Linked DNA regions of Homo sapiens: region 1 is linked to region 2. Evidence: promoter capture Hi-C in human tissues and cell types (Jung and others, 2019). All regions are on one chromosome and are shown on one strand. The core of a region is centred on a gene start or on the middle of the fragment in contact, and the rest is flanking DNA. Distances in the headings are between cores, read along the strand shown. Region 1 overlaps SLC6A15 (solute carrier family 6 member 15). Region 2 holds the start of SLC6A15 (solute carrier family 6 member 15).

The links. The method cuts DNA at HindIII sites, captures the fragments that hold promoters and counts their contacts. A contact is called where the count stands out against the background at its distance.
Region 1: a fragment that was not itself captured here is called in contact with the fragment with the promoter of SLC6A15 in region 2 in 1 of the 25 tissues and cell types used here (bladder).

What each region holds. Positions count from the first base shown.
Region 1 is chr12:84,864,262-84,868,029 of GRCh38, forward strand. It overlaps SLC6A15 (solute carrier family 6 member 15), which reads right to left. Exons shown (of 12, transcript NM_182767.6): 10 at 2,773-2,932. Among named protein-coding and RNA genes, the nearest start is that of SLC6A15, 47 kb to the right of the region's middle. The HindIII fragment of the contact is 4,739 bases long and covers 1-3,768 here.
Region 2 is chr12:84,910,758-84,914,612 of GRCh38, forward strand. It overlaps SLC6A15 (solute carrier family 6 member 15), which reads right to left and starts at 2,042. Exons shown (of 12, transcript NM_182767.6): 1 at 1,766-2,042. LOC102724680 (a long non-coding RNA gene) reads left to right here and starts at 2,080. Exons shown (of 4, transcript XR_945154.3): 1 at 2,080-2,147. RefSeq lists enhancers at 612-1,160, 1,709-2,256, 2,257-2,803. The HindIII fragment of the contact is 2,941 bases long and covers 1,190-3,855 here.

The DNA.
Region 1 (3,768 bases), core at 958-3,457, 46 kb before region 2:
CTACATATAATAACTAATTGTTATGAATTGTTATGTCTCTTGAGTCCATTCTTTCTTTCTTTTTTTTTTTTTTTTTTGAGACAGAGTCTCACCTGTTGCCCAGGCTGGAGTACAGTGGCACAATCTCGACTCACTGCAACCTCATCTTCCCAGGTTCAAGCAATTCTCCTGCCTCAGCCTCCCGAGTAGCTGGGATTACAGGCGACCACCATCACGCCCGGCTGATTTTTGTATTTTTAGTAGAGATGGCGTTTCACCATGTTGGTCAGACTGCTCTCGATCTCCTGACCTCAAGTGATCTGCCCACCTTGACCTCCCAAAGTGTTGGGATTACAGGCTTGAGCCACCACACCTGGCCCAGTCTTAATCTCTATGTTTCTCTTCCCTTTTTCATTTCTTCCAAGTTGCTCCAGAATCTTAAAGGACATCTTCAATGTAAGAATTCTACACCTGCCCTTTAGAAAAAATATGAACTTTGAAGACCAAGAGACCTCATTTCAGATCACAGTTCTGTGTTCTTTTGATGTATATCTTAATCTCTCTAAGCTTCATTTTTGGTGTTTTCCAAAAATATAATATAATACCCACCTTTGAGGGTTATTACTAGAACCATAAACAATGGATGCTTAGCATACTACCTCACATATGGTACAAAATCGACAGATGCATCTATTAGTAGTAGTATTTTTTCTTCTGTTGTTATAAATAGTGTTATTCAGGAACACTAGCATTAAAAAGAGAGATTCTTTAGTAAGTCTATCATGAATAACGAACTGTCTAAATGGAAATCTAAATTACAAATGTATTTATTTACAGATCAGTCCAAAAACAATATCAAATTCCATCATGGTACAGGTTATGAGTTTTGAGTAGCCTAGTAAAGCTTAGAGAAACCTGGCCTTGAAATGAAGGTCAAGGTTACAGTACTGGCTCTACAGCTAACATATTGTATCCTCCTGTAAAAGAAGGGGCAGTTTCCCATCTGTAAGATATGGATCATGTTAGTTAACAAGGAGTATTTTTTGATTACACACTTTATTTTTTAAGAGCAATTTTAGGTTCACAGCAAAATTGAGCTGAAAGTAGAGAGATTTCCCATATAGCTCCTACCAATATATGTGCATAACCTCCTCCATTATCAGCAACCCCCACGAGAGTGGAATGTTGGTTACAATTGATGAACCTACATAAGTTAACACATCATTATTACCTAGAGCCCACAGTTTACACTGGAATTCACTGTTTGTGTAGTACATTCTCTGGATTTGGACAAATGTATAATGACGTGTGTCCACCATTACAGTGTCATACAGAGTAGTTTCACTGCCCTAAACATTCTGTGCTCAGCGTATACATCCCTGGATCTGGCCCAACCCCTGTTAACTGCTGATGTTTTTACTGTTTCCATAGTTTTACCTTTTCCATATTATAATATAGGGGAATCTTACAATATGTAACCTTTTCATATGTGACTTTTTTCACTAAGTAATGTGCATTAAAATTTCCTCTGTGTCTTTTCATGGATTGAATAATATTTCATTGTCTGGATGTATGACAATTTATCCATTTACCTACTAAAGGATATCTTGTTTGCCTCCAAGTTTGGGCAATTATGAATATAGTTGCTATAAACACCCACGTGCAGAATTTTAAGTGGGCATAAGTTTTCAACTCCTTTGGGTAAATACCAAGTAGCATGATTGCTGGATTATACACTAAGAGCTATTACTACTATTATTATACAGTACATGATTATTAAATGTAAGTTCTCCTAAGCTTCCTGACCTGGAGCTTTTGGCAACCACAAAAAACATTCTCTAAGCTTTGTTATAAAGCTCATTCAATACCCACAATATTCTTTATGCTGCTTAAAAGGACTCTGGCCTTCACTTAAGGTGCATGCATTACTACTTTACATAGGGCTGTAATGAGCTTGGTGATCTTACTACCTCTCAGTCCATGTATGTGATTAGAGACAGTGACTATAAAAAGTATTGGACAAATCCTCCAAAGGTCTTTTTCCCTTGAGAGAACTCTGGTGCTTCACATCATTTCAAATACATACACTTTTCACATCAGTGTACCTGAATGGTGTGAAAAGTATGTGTATTTGATATGAATTTATGAATAAATAGTGAATTTATTCATTATTTATGCGTATAGTGAATTTAAGTAATGACTCTATATAAAAATAATGTTTCTGTGCAGCAAATGACATATACATCTCAGACCTGGGAAAATATCATTTCCCAATATTGTCCTGCTATATAAGGCATTATGACACATGCACTCCTCTTATAAATCAATTTAGCAATATAATTAGGAGATAAGCTTTAGAGTTAAACAGAAATGGACATGAGTCCCAGGTCTGCTGCTGTCCAGGTGGGTGACAGGCAAGTCACAGGGTGTCTCTCTAAGCTTGATTTTCCTTATCTGTGAAATGTAGATAACAATAAAGAACTCAAAAGAAACTAAGGTTCTTGGAACTCTGCCAATACTTACTAAATCCTGAAAGTTAGCTATTTGATAACCAGGACCAAATCAAAGATCTAAAATTCTACATACTATTACATCCTATATAATTCTATTTGCCCAACAGGGAAATGTAATTTACCAAAACTGTTGAATCAGTGAGAGCCTGCAAAAGGTTTGATTTTTTAAAGAATTGTTCCCTCTATTCATTTATTTCCTCTTCTAAATGAAATGAACATTGATAATTGATGTTTTCAAACTAGAGATTAAAAGTGAATACATAAAAGCAAATATACTTACTTATCTATGCCATAAACAAAGCATACAGCAATATTCTCCAAAATGACTACAATTAGCAGAGGCAGTGTAGCAGAATAATCATCAAACATTGTAACAAAGTAATTTCCAGAGCGTTGCACAAATATCAGGCCAATACAAAATGCCAGAAGACAACAGATAACTAGACAAAAGAAATAAATGAAAAAATGAGACTCTATTCAGAGACAAGGCCTTTAAACTTTATTATAAATTATTATATTCAAACTTTTAAAACTTTTATAACATGTCCATCATATAAACAGGCAATACCTTTCCTGATACATGGCATATAACCTATTAGGAATTAGGTTACCTGGGTGTAGCCTCAACATTCATACAAATTTATTCTAAGACAGTAATTCATCTCCCTGAGCCCGTGGAAACTCATTTACCAAGTACAATAATAAATGAGTCAAAGTTTAGAGAAAAATTTAAAAGTATAAATTTCCATACTCTATTCGTATAATTAATAGCAAAGTGACTTCTTCAGGCACCAAATATTTATAGGTCATTTATTCATTTAATAATGTTCTACAGTGTTGAAATATAGATGAGATTTTTGAATTAATAATGAGACTAATATTGCTTATATTATTATGAAATATACATATTATATATTTGATTGAAATATGGTTACTTTTCAAGCATAAGTGGAAAAATCTGACCAGACTTAACCTCAGCAACAATCCACATTTATATCTTTATCTTGCCTGAACAGATTAGTTTGGAAACAAATTATAATGGAGTTGAGCAATCTGATCATCCACATAACATCTAAGAAAAATCATCTAAAAAGAGTTTCCCCAGTAATAGCTAAGAAACAGATGCATAAATTTCTGACCAGCTACTACTTAGAAAAGTTTTTGAAATTCATATAATATTCCCATATTTTTGTTAGACTCTGTTCTTTTGTGCTCATTAGCAGAGAAGCCTCCAAAGGTAAAAGATGACTGCATTCCATTTCTCAACCACATTTCG
Region 2 (3,855 bases), core at 792-3,291:
TTAATATCCCGCGGAGCAGCAAGCCATACTGCTCAGACCCCTTCTGCCCGTACCTATAAATGGCCCCAGCCTGTAAGCGGCAGCGGGCTCCGGCATTAGGCTGGTCCTCCACTTCTGTAGGATTTATGCTGGACAGAAAGCCTGAATTTGCTGTTGAGCCGCCCTCTTTCCGTGTGTGTGTGTGTGTGTGTGTGTGTCTTTAACCCTCGCCTTCCCTTCAAAACCTAACACTGTTCAAAGAAGATTTAGTCCATCATTAAGTATTTATTAAGAACGTACAAGTCAAGCCCAGTACTGGGCGCCTAAGACATAAATAGGTCTGTGTTTCAGCAATGATCTTGCAGAAATGAGGTTGGGTGGGTGAGGGGCTTGTTGGGGCTGTGTCTGCACATAATAATTCCTCAAAACAAACACTTTGTTGCTGGCACAGCAGAAAAGCAATCAGGCATTGACAGGTAGAAAATAGCTTTTACAGCATGGGCGATGAGGAGCCCCAAAGCAGCATATAAAGCAAATCCTTCATTTCTCCCATACGTCTTAAGTAGTGAACCGCAAGGATGGTGCAGACTAAGATTGGGTCTACCTATAAGATCTGGAGGGGAAAACGGCAAGACCAGAAGAAACCGTCGCAGACTTATTTGCATAAGCACCCAAACACTGCTTACGTCACTGCGCCGGAGTCCGGACCCCGCCCCGTCTTACTCCAGCCTTTCCCAGCTAGGGAGGAGGATGGAAAGGGAAAGCGGGACGCTGGAGAGCGCGAGCCTGGGGGCTTTGCTTCCTAAAACGCACATCAAAGGCTGCTTCTCAGCTCAGGAAAAATAATTCCCGTTCCCGCAGCCTGTGCCACTGGGTGGGTCATGCCTGTTCCCGAACGCCTCGGGCGTCTTGATTCATTCTTATGTATCCAGTTGGTGCGCTACGTTAGAGTGCAAGGATTTCCCTGTACTCAATACCGTCTTCTTCCCAGTCACACACAGACCAGCCTAGTGAAAGAAAGGTAGAAACGATCTGGGTTTCTAACTGCTTCCCATCTTCTTACAGTCCCAGCAGCACCACCCTCACCGCCACACTCTCAAATTCCAGGATGCGCAGAAACACAGGAGCCGTGATTTCTCCAGCAGCCACGTGCCTTTCGTACGGCGAAAGGCCCCCTTTCGGGCCATTTATCACAGGATACCTCAAGCAAAGGGGAACTGTGGTCACGTGAAAACACTCTGTCCTCGGTAGTCGCCTTCTGCCTTTGCTAAAGCGAACGGAAGCGAATGAGGAATAAAGCTCTCTGCTCTCCCCGCCCCATCGCCCACCTGCACGAGGTTTAGCTTCCAATTCACCTCGCGTCTCTCTCTGCCCCAACCCTCCCAACTTTCCTCTTGGACTTTCCCGTGTTGGACCCCACCCTTCAACCAACCCCGACTTGGCTTGGAAACGAGTAGGTCTCTGGGGATGCTGTGGGCAATTTCCACGACGGGAAGAAAGGATGGCGGCACGTTTCAACCCATGTGCTTCCCCTTACATGTGCAGCCTGTCGCCCCCCACCCTGATTGTACAGAGATGCAGAGTTAGACGGTTGCCCGCCCAGCCCAGCTTCTCCCTCCCAGGGCTTTTGAGCTGCCCTCCCTCCTCCCACCCCAGGACGCAGCGAGTCCTTCCCGGCATCCATCCATCAATTCGTTCCCGGTGCTGGTGCCCAGGCTCCTGGGTGGCTAATGGCGAGCCCCACCTCACCCCCAGTTGTGCCCTTAGCGTAGGCGCTTGCCATTACCGTCAGTGTGTCTTGACCAAGCGCCTCTTGCTGCTTCCACGTCCGGGCAGCAGCAGCAGCAGTCGCGAAAGGGTAGGGTCCAGGTGGCTGTGACGGAGGCCGAAGAGGAGCTGTTGGCAGAGAAGCAGCTTCTTGCCTAGGTTGGGACCCGGAGCTGGGTTTTGGGGGTCGCCGCCCTGCAGGCTGGCAAGGAGAGACTCGTGAGCGCCTGTGTGTCTGCCAGGGAAACAGCACGGGATACAGGCGCGCGGGTGCGGGTGCGCGTGTACATGCGTATGTGTGTGTGCGCGCGCGCGTGTGTGTATGTGTGAGGGTGTGACGGAGGCGCCCACGTGCTCGGCCCGCCCGTGTTACGGCCGCCTACCGGCTGCAGAGGAGAAGGGTAGGCTGTGGGCGGCGGCGGGGCGCGGAGGGGTAGCCAGGAGCGCAGGCTGGGCTCCGCACCTCCCTGCCCCAAAACCCATTGATGCAGCGGCCACTGCGGCTGCCGAGCGGCGTCTTCCCAGAGCCCGGGGCTGTGCCCGCCCGATGCAGGATGCAACTGAGGAAGCCCGCTCCAAAGCAAAACAAAACAAATTCCTCCAGCCATGCCGTCTTTCTCCAACCCACTCAAGCGAAAGAATGGACACCAGTTACCAGCCGCTGACTTTTGTCTCAGTGAGAATAATAATAGGCATGGTGCTACCTGGCACCATCTGAATATTCTCCAAGAGTCAGTAATGGGACTAGAAAAAATGGGTGACCCAAAGAACCCTTTTCCCTACCTATTCCCCCAAGCCGGCCATTTACATCTCTTGCGAAAGAAAAAGCCTCTGGGCATTGGCTTCTCCGTCAGGCGGTGGCCTCATAGCGCTCAGTGATTCTCGCCAGGTTATGAAAGGCCGTTTTAGAAAGCTGGCCCTCACCCACCCTGTGTTGGTGCCTCAGCAGCAGACTTTTTTCCAAGGGGTCTCATTACAAGATGAAGCCTGACTTACCTCTGCTAACAATCAAGGCATGCTCGTAATTAAGCCACGTGGAGAATTCCTAAAATATACACCTCTGAACACAAAGCTTAGCCTCCTTTTGAAAATGGCTGAACCGTCCCCTAAACAGTGCGTATGCTCTAAGGATGAAATTTTCCGTCCTTGAAACGTTCAAAATTTGAAAGAAATACAAAATGAACCTAGAAGCTAGGTAGAAAGGTTCAGTAATTTAGCAAAGTTAATTTTTCACTTCCAGATTATTAATATTACTCTTAAAAACTACTTTTGTGCACTTTTAGGCCTTTTAACAATCCCTTAGATTTTTACGGTTCGTATCCAATTAAGATTGAATTAAATTAAAAAGGCCATTGCAAACAGGTTTTTCATGCAGTGAAAAATCTCTTGGAAAGAAATCACAAGACCTAAATTTCAGGTCAGAACATTGCTACTAATCCTTAGCTTTTAAAACAGCCAAGAGAGTTTTTTCTCAGCCTCTCTTCCAATCCCAACTTTGAAAAATTAAAAGTTAAGAAATTAAATTAGATTTGATTCCCTGATACGCCTCCCCTGCCATGAGTAAATAAATGCTCTTTGATAGATGCGCCACGTGAAAAAATAAAAACAGTCAAAATAAACCTTTTATAGGACTTTTTTTGCTTTTTACTTCACATTTTGGTGACAGGCAAATATTTAATGTTGATATATAAAGAAACTGAAATACAGTACCAACATTATCAATAACAACTGAGAAAATTTTAGGAAAATAAGGAGAGCTGTGTCCACCATGATCAGGATTAGGATTATCTGTGGGAAACAAAGTTATCCATATGCTGGCAGAAATCGTTTACGGTAGTACCAAGAAGTACGAAAATTATTTCTCTCCCACGCTTTTTCACTAGTGTCTGATACCTAATTCCAATACATATGCATAGGTCACAAAATATTTGTAGAGCGATGCCCTCCATAATGACTGATACTAATTTATGTCTCAATGCCAATGAAGAGAAGTAGGAGAAAGCAACTATTGTTTTAAGCTTCCCACTAAGTACCTGGGGCTTAATAATATCTTATTTAATCCTCTCAACTAATTAATGAGGTGATTTTTCCTAATTTAGAGATTAGAGA